2 separate regions of the Homo sapiens genome follow, and region 2 is linked to region 1. The links are contacts of gene promoters, found by promoter capture Hi-C in blood cells and fetal thymus (Javierre and others, 2016). All regions are on one chromosome and are shown on one strand. Each heading gives the region's core, a stretch centred on a gene start or on the middle of the fragment in contact. The rest is flanking DNA. Distances are from core to core; before and after follow the strand shown.

The links. Contacts are between HindIII fragments. The CHiCAGO score rates a contact against its expected background, and 5 or more counts as called.
Region 2: a fragment that was not itself captured here is called in contact with the fragment with the promoter of SAMD7 in region 1 in 1 of 17 cell types (total B cells); the score reaches 5.5 in total B cells.

The regions. Positions count from the first base shown.
Region 1 is chr3:169,909,773-169,913,564 of GRCh38, reverse strand. It overlaps SAMD7 (sterile alpha motif domain containing 7), which reads right to left and starts at 1,993. Exons shown (of 9, transcript NM_001304366.2): 1 at 1,744-1,993. The HindIII fragment of the contact is 322 bases long and covers 1,826-2,147 here.
Region 2 is chr3:170,849,919-170,853,257 of GRCh38, reverse strand. No RefSeq gene overlaps it. Among named protein-coding and RNA genes, the nearest start is that of RPL22L1, 19 kb to the left of the region's middle. The HindIII fragment of the contact is 2,377 bases long and covers 364-2,740 here.

The DNA.
Region 1 (3,792 bases), core at 744-3,243:
GAGGATGAGGACTCCTTAATCTCTGTCTTCAGACTCTTACCCTCAACAAACCCCTCCAGGCAGCACATAGATGATTTACCTAGTGCTAATTCTGTCTCAACTGATTAGGGCAGTAGTAGTAAGACATGAACTTCATGAACTAAAGCCCTTGCCAAATCAGCAGATATTCACGGAATGATTTCCCAGTGCCCAGGAGCCGGGTGCCAATTTTATTATATTTGTCTGTTATTGGCTATACTGTGATCTTTCATTAAAATCAGTGCAATTTGAGTTTGGAAAACCCTATATTTGACTAATCGTATGTAGAATATTTATGGTATGTATGATGCATGTTTTCTGATTACATACATTAAAATGAATTAATTTTTAAGTAACTGCTGTATCTGGTAAGTTTTTGTATGTGAAAAGTAGATCAGTAGAATTAAATGTTTCCACAGTTCTGAGATAAATAAATGTAAGATAAATAGATGTAAATTCTTAAATTAAAATGAGAGCAATTTTTACAATTCAGGCCTGGCTTCTTGCGAGTTTTCTTGGCCTTCTCTTAGGCAGTACCCCAACAACTCCAAAGTAATTCCTCCTACTTATGTTTTGCAGAGGCCTTTGTAGTCCATCTCCTCCAACTCTCTCTGAGCACAACCCAAATAGGCCTTCTCCTGGGTCCCTCCATATCTTGCTCCCCTTCCCATCTCTGCCAAGGACGGAGGAGAACTTTAGAAAGACAGTTCATACCGAAGCACTTGGCAGTGCTGCTAAAATGTATTTCACTTTTCCTAAAGGCATAAGCTTTAGGACTTTTCTAACTGCATTTCACCATAGCACATACCCTGGAAAGCATTGAAGACAGTGGGTTACGTGCTGGCTGCTGTCACTTCTTATTTCTTTTTACTCTGGAAGCTCATTTTCATTAGACCTATCCATGTCTTCTTGAAATGTCAGGTTCTAGGCACAATTACAAGTATTGTAAAGAAAAAGGTAAACCTTTGACATCATTAAAGAAGTCAAAATTATGTAATTTCTACTGGACTCAATATAATTTATGTGCAACTACAGTTTGTATAAATTATGTTCACTTTCTTCAAAAGATTGTGAAGCAAAGTCCATTATATATAAATCTGTAGAGACTAAAGTGAAATTCTAGCAGTACTCATATAATGGAACTGAATAGTAGGTGTTTTAGTTAGATAGTCTTAAAGAATGAATTAAGGAATATCAATATAGATTTTATTTCATGATTATCATTGATTGTTCCTCAATGTTTTTCTGAAATTTTCTACTCTGACATTTCATGGTTCATACATCATGACAATTTTTGGAATATAGATATCTATAGTAATGGGGGGCCATTAAAATAATAATATATAGTAAATAAACAGCAGTAATACATAGAGGTAGGTACTTCATCTGTTTGAAGATAATAAAACTACAGTAAATTTACATACAACTTTGAACTGACTTTATCTTAAATAAACTTCATTTTACTTTCACTTAAAAAACTCCAAAAACTAAGACCAGGCAGTGTTTATTTGGTAGGAGTGGTATATCATCTTTACTCGTTAGTAACTTCAGTCAAGTAGGAATTTATTAGCTCACATACTGTTAGTAATAGCCAGTAAAGTCTACACATAAACCTAAGCATTTCCTTTAAGATAAAGATGTCCTTTTATTTTATATGTGAAACATTTTACTCAGAGTAACTGGCCTCAATTTTGGGCTAATCAATGTGTAGAGTTACATACTTACATCCTCTATGAAGACTTCTTGTCTTTGATATTGCAGATGGAAGAACCATACAAAGACTTTCTGGCCTTCAACTGCAGAAGCTTCTCTGGCTGCGGGTTGAAAGGTACATCTGACAATTCTTTCAAAAATGGTCTTAATTCAGTTTAACCTTGCTTTAAATACAAATTCAACTAAGTTGATTAGTCCTATTTCATGACAGAAACTTTGCCCTCTGATATCCTCTACAGATAGGCTAAAAGATGTTAAGCCCAAGGAAAGTGCCCTGCAAGGTGCATAAACCTGTCTCAGAGCTTAGCCTTTAGTGTAATCCTTCCTTAGCCTTTAAGATGCTTTGTGGGCATTCACTTAATACCACTGTTCAACTTGACACAAAAGAAATATACTATGCAAATAAGTAATAAGCTTTTCTTTGATGGAACTATATAGCCTATTCCATATTTCCAACAGGTTTCAAGTGGAAACATTTCTTTTGCGAGTAGGAAAAAACCTAAGTTATTTTCCACAGAGCTGAAACATTTGATGAAAGATGGCAGTCTATTTTAAAAAGAAGCTTCTATAATGGACAACTGTACTTTAATTCTCACAGGCAGTGAGAAAACCCTTTATCATCTGTGTGAGAGCTGTGATCTATATAAGAGGGAAAACACGGAATTTTGAAAATGTGACCTGTTATATTTGCTAGAGAAACATTTATAGCTTGAAAAAGAACATCCATATTTTTTGATTCCTAGTAATTTACTAGTAGGAAGTACAAAATAAGAATTGAATATAAGAAATTTAAGTTGTGTTTCAAGTAATGCTTTAGGCTTCCAGTTTGAAGGTAACCTGCTCCTTTGTTGACACACATTTTTATCATTGGCTGTTGAACTCATTATAAGAAATAGCATGTGGAACTGACTGTATTTATTCCAGGGTTATTGTTCATAAAGCAGTGGTCAACAGCAGGGACTTAGATGACCAACAGACTCAATAAGCCTCAGCACCACCACTCATTAGCTGTATGGCCTGGCCAAGTTACTGAACTTCTCTGAGCCTTAGTTTCCTCATCTCAGAAGAGCCCTTCTTGGGAAAGGGAAGGCAACAAGGTAGACAAAATGCTTGAATAGTTCTCACTAAACATTAGCCATTATGTTAGGTAACTATATTGCACAGAGTCCTCTGTTGAGGATCCATGGGAGGAATTTTTCTCAGCTTGTAGTACTAGGGACAATTGTTTTGTTGTTGTTATTGTTGTTGTTGTTGTTCTGAAAAATAAGGCCAAAATAAAACCTCAGGAATCACGTAACTAGTGTGTTGCATTCTTTGTGTTGGTTAGTAGGAAGTTCAGGACCTGCCTTTAGGCATGCATTTTATTATATTTTTATTTATTTATTTTTGAGACAAGTTCTTGCTCTGCCACCCAGGCTAGAGTGCAGTGGCACAATCATGGCTCACTGTAGCCTCTATGTCCCCAGACTCAAGCAATCCTCCCACCGTAGCCTCCAAGTAGCTGGGACCACTGGTGCACGACCGCATGCCTGGCTAATTTTTTTTCTGTATTTTTTTGTAGAGACAGGCTTTCGCCATGTTGCCTAGGCTGGTCTTGAACTCCTGGACTCTAGCAATCCACCCACCTCGGCCTCCCAATGTACTGGGATTATAGGCGTGAGCCACCATGCCCAGCCTAGACATGCATTTTAAAACCAGAAATGATCTATGGCTTCATCTTATTTTTCCTAACATTATTTTCCCTTTGCCCTAATTTTTACTAAACTGTCTTTCTTGTGTTGTATATGCATTTTGAAGTGTCTCATAAATTATTAGCATTTATAATATTTATGCATACAGTTTTTGTTTTTTTTTGTTGTTGTTGTTTGTTTGTTTTTTTGAGACAGAGTCTCACTCTGTCACCCAGGCTGGAGTGCTGTGGCGTGATCTCAGCTCACTGCAAGCTCCACCTCCCGGGTTCACGCCATTCTCCTGCCTCAGCCTCCTGAGTAGCTGGGACTACAGGCGCCCGCCACCATGCCCAGCTAATTTTTTTTTTTTTGTATTTTTAGTAGAGACGGG
Region 2 (3,339 bases), core at 303-2,802, 940 kb before region 1:
AATTAGTAACATTACCTTTCATTCATAAATGTAGAAAGGCAACCAAGGTTCACTCAAAATGAGTAGAACCAACAGTATCAAAGAAAATGATTGGAATGAACAAATTAAAACAAGTGACCCAGGACAGATATGCAAGTAGCAGAAGAAAGTTTCCCTCCGCCCAAGAAAATCTGGATCCTCATATTGCGAGGTAGGCCAGGTAGGATGAAGGGAAAAGCTCATAACTTCCTGAAGAAGTTTCAGTACTCCAAAGGATAAAAAGAAAATCCCAAAAGCTTCCAGAGGGAAGAGAAAACAAAACAAAACAGTTTACCTACAAAAAAATAATCTTGAATTGGACCTACTAAGGGAGTGCACTAAGCTTACCAGCAGGAATGTCTGGGTCTCATCAGCTATAAGAATCCTTTCCTGTCCTTAGGCTTCCTGTTTTCTATAAATTAAGAGATTAAACCAGCAGATTTCTGTTTCTCTCTCTCTCTCTCTCTGTCTCTCTCTCTCTCTCTCGCTCTGTGTGTGTGTGTGTGTGTGTGTGTGTGTGTGTGTGTGTGTGTGTGTGTTTCCAGGTCTGACTTGCTGTGAATGCTTGTTGATGTACTCCAAGGCTGACCTCTCTTTTGGAGCTTTCCTCATGAAACCCAACAGGCCACTCCATAAATCCACAACACATACAGTGGATTTTTTTTTTAAACTGCCATATGCTTTAAATAAGCATGTGAGTTTATTGCCTGAACACATGCTGATTTATCAACTCAATCTTATTTCTTAAGGACAGGAATAGTGGTTTCGAGTACAGTACACTATAAATAGAAAACACAACACGTGACTGCTGGATTAATCAATCAGCGAACTTTTATGAGCATCTGCAGTATGTCTCTTTCTGTCTCTCTTTTTTTTTTTTTGAAACAGGGTCTCGCTGTCTCACTCAGGCTAGAGTGCAGATCACAGTTCACTGCAGCCTTCACTTCCTGGACTCAAGGATCTTCCCACCCCAGCCTCCCAAGTAGCTGGGACTACAAGTATGTGCCATGAAACCCAGCTAATTTTTATTCTCTCTCTCTCTCTTTTTTTTTTTTTTTTGTAGAGATGAGGTCTCGCTATATCCCCCAGGTTGGTCTTGAACTTGTGGGCTCAAGGATCCTCCTGCCTCAGCCTCCCAAAGTGCTGGGATTACAGGAGTGAGCCATTGTGCCCAGCCAATATGTCTCATACCATGAAAAGTCATAGGATTTTGAGAAGACCATACAGATCTTTTGCTCCAGTGTTTATCAAAGTGCATAAAACAGGACTGTAGTTCCATGTGAACATAGTAAGTAGTACAGTAACAACAAAATAACACATGGGAAATGGACAGTTAAGCAAACTAAACATTTATTTGCTTTGGGAATTTTTCAGGTCTTTGTGACTCTCCATGCATCGGTTCCCCCAAATATGTAGCTTTGCTCAAATGTAGTGGATCATAGAGTACTTTTATTTACCAACTCAAGAAAGCATATGAGTTTCTAGATCTAACTGATGGTTTACAAAAGATGCAGTGGGTAAAGAACATATTAAATGATACCAGGAGGATTTAATCAGCCATTCCAGAATGTAAGAGATTCTACAAGATAAATGACCAGTTTCTCCAATGACAAAGAAATAGCATTAACAGAAGAGGGTGGGCCAGTTATAGAACAAAAGAGATTTAAGAGAAAAATCACCATATGTAATATGGGGACTTTTTGGAAAATGATCCAAACAAACCAAATGCAAATAGATATTTTTGAGATAAGCAAAGATAATTGAACATGAACTGGGTATTAAAAAATATAAGCATTACATATTCTAAAACCTAACTATTGTTCATTTTACTCAGTGTGATTATGATATTACTGTTATTTTTTAGTTTGTTTTGATATACATACTGAAGTAGTAAAGGTAAATTAATACCAGAATTTTCCTGTAAACATATACTGGTAATGCTTTTCTCCTTGATATGAGTGTTTTGTAGGTGGGTATGTTAACTTTATTAAAAAGATGTTCTTAACACTTATGATTTGTTCACTTTCTATGTGTAAGTCCTATTTCAAAAATTTTATATATAATTTAAATATTATATATGCATATATAATGCATATAGGTGGTTTAAAAATCAGTTTCTATTGTAAAAGAGTACACAGTGAAAAGTATTCCTTCCTTTCCCTGAAGCCTACTGACCCGTTTCTTCTCTCAAAGACAATGACTATTACCAGCATTCATCTGAAGGTATTTTTATTTTATGTGTGTACAAGTATGTCTATGCAGATATGTCTTGGATATAATCCATGTAAGTATATATAGATTTTTCCATTTTTAGTAGTAACATGTTATTTTATTGTGTGTTTTACTGTGTGTTATTTGCCTGGTCACTTAGTGCTGGAAATTTAGGCAGTTTACAGTTTTTGTACAGTTTTTGTACAGTCTTTATGCTCATGGGTTTTTAAATGTTAATAGATGTTGCCAAATTGTCCTCCAAGATGTCTGTACTAGTTTACCTCCATTTCCACCCAGTAATATATATATCACGGTGCTCAAGTTCACAGTATACTGAGTCATATATAGTAATGCCCTCAAGAGGGAGGTATCTTTAAAATAAATTCAGGATAAATTGACCTTTGATTATAACTGTTCTTACTCAAATACCTTAAACAAGGAAGACACAGCTTATTTGTGTATAAAATTAGTATAGCAGAATGTCTACTTAAGTACTTCTAGAATTAAAGCTTTTCTCTTCTAAATGGTGTGAAAAATGGCTATAGTAATCAAGATTGTGTGGTGCTGACAGAGAGACTATAAAGGGTTGGTTCAGTACTATGCACAAGATGTAGCACCAGGTGCTTTAAATATATTATCTTATTTTCTACTGATACATTTTATAAATGAAGTAATTGAGACTCAGAATGACTAAATAGCAAAGCTGGAATTGGAACCACTTGCAATTGGTCTGATTCCACAGCCTGTTTTTTCCACTTCTTCAAAGCAGAAAGGTATGAGCAGGAGGAAATAGAGCTATAGTACATGGCATGAGTGGAAGGGTATGGGGAACATTGGAGGAAAAGTTTGAAAAATTAGAGTGGAGTGAGAGTAAGGAAGAAATTGAAACAGAGATGTGTATGTTGGGGAATGAAATGATGAAGGCTGAAAGTAACATGTAAAATATATTAGTTGAAAGAGACTGATGTCTGGTGTGGGGGAAACCCTAGGAAATCATCAAAGAAAATTAGCAAAGAGACTTGAATGGTTACCCAGGCAGGAGGAATTGAGGGTTTAGTCTTGAGATGAAGGAGTGGATGGATGCAAGAGAACCTGACTTCATTTGCTTAA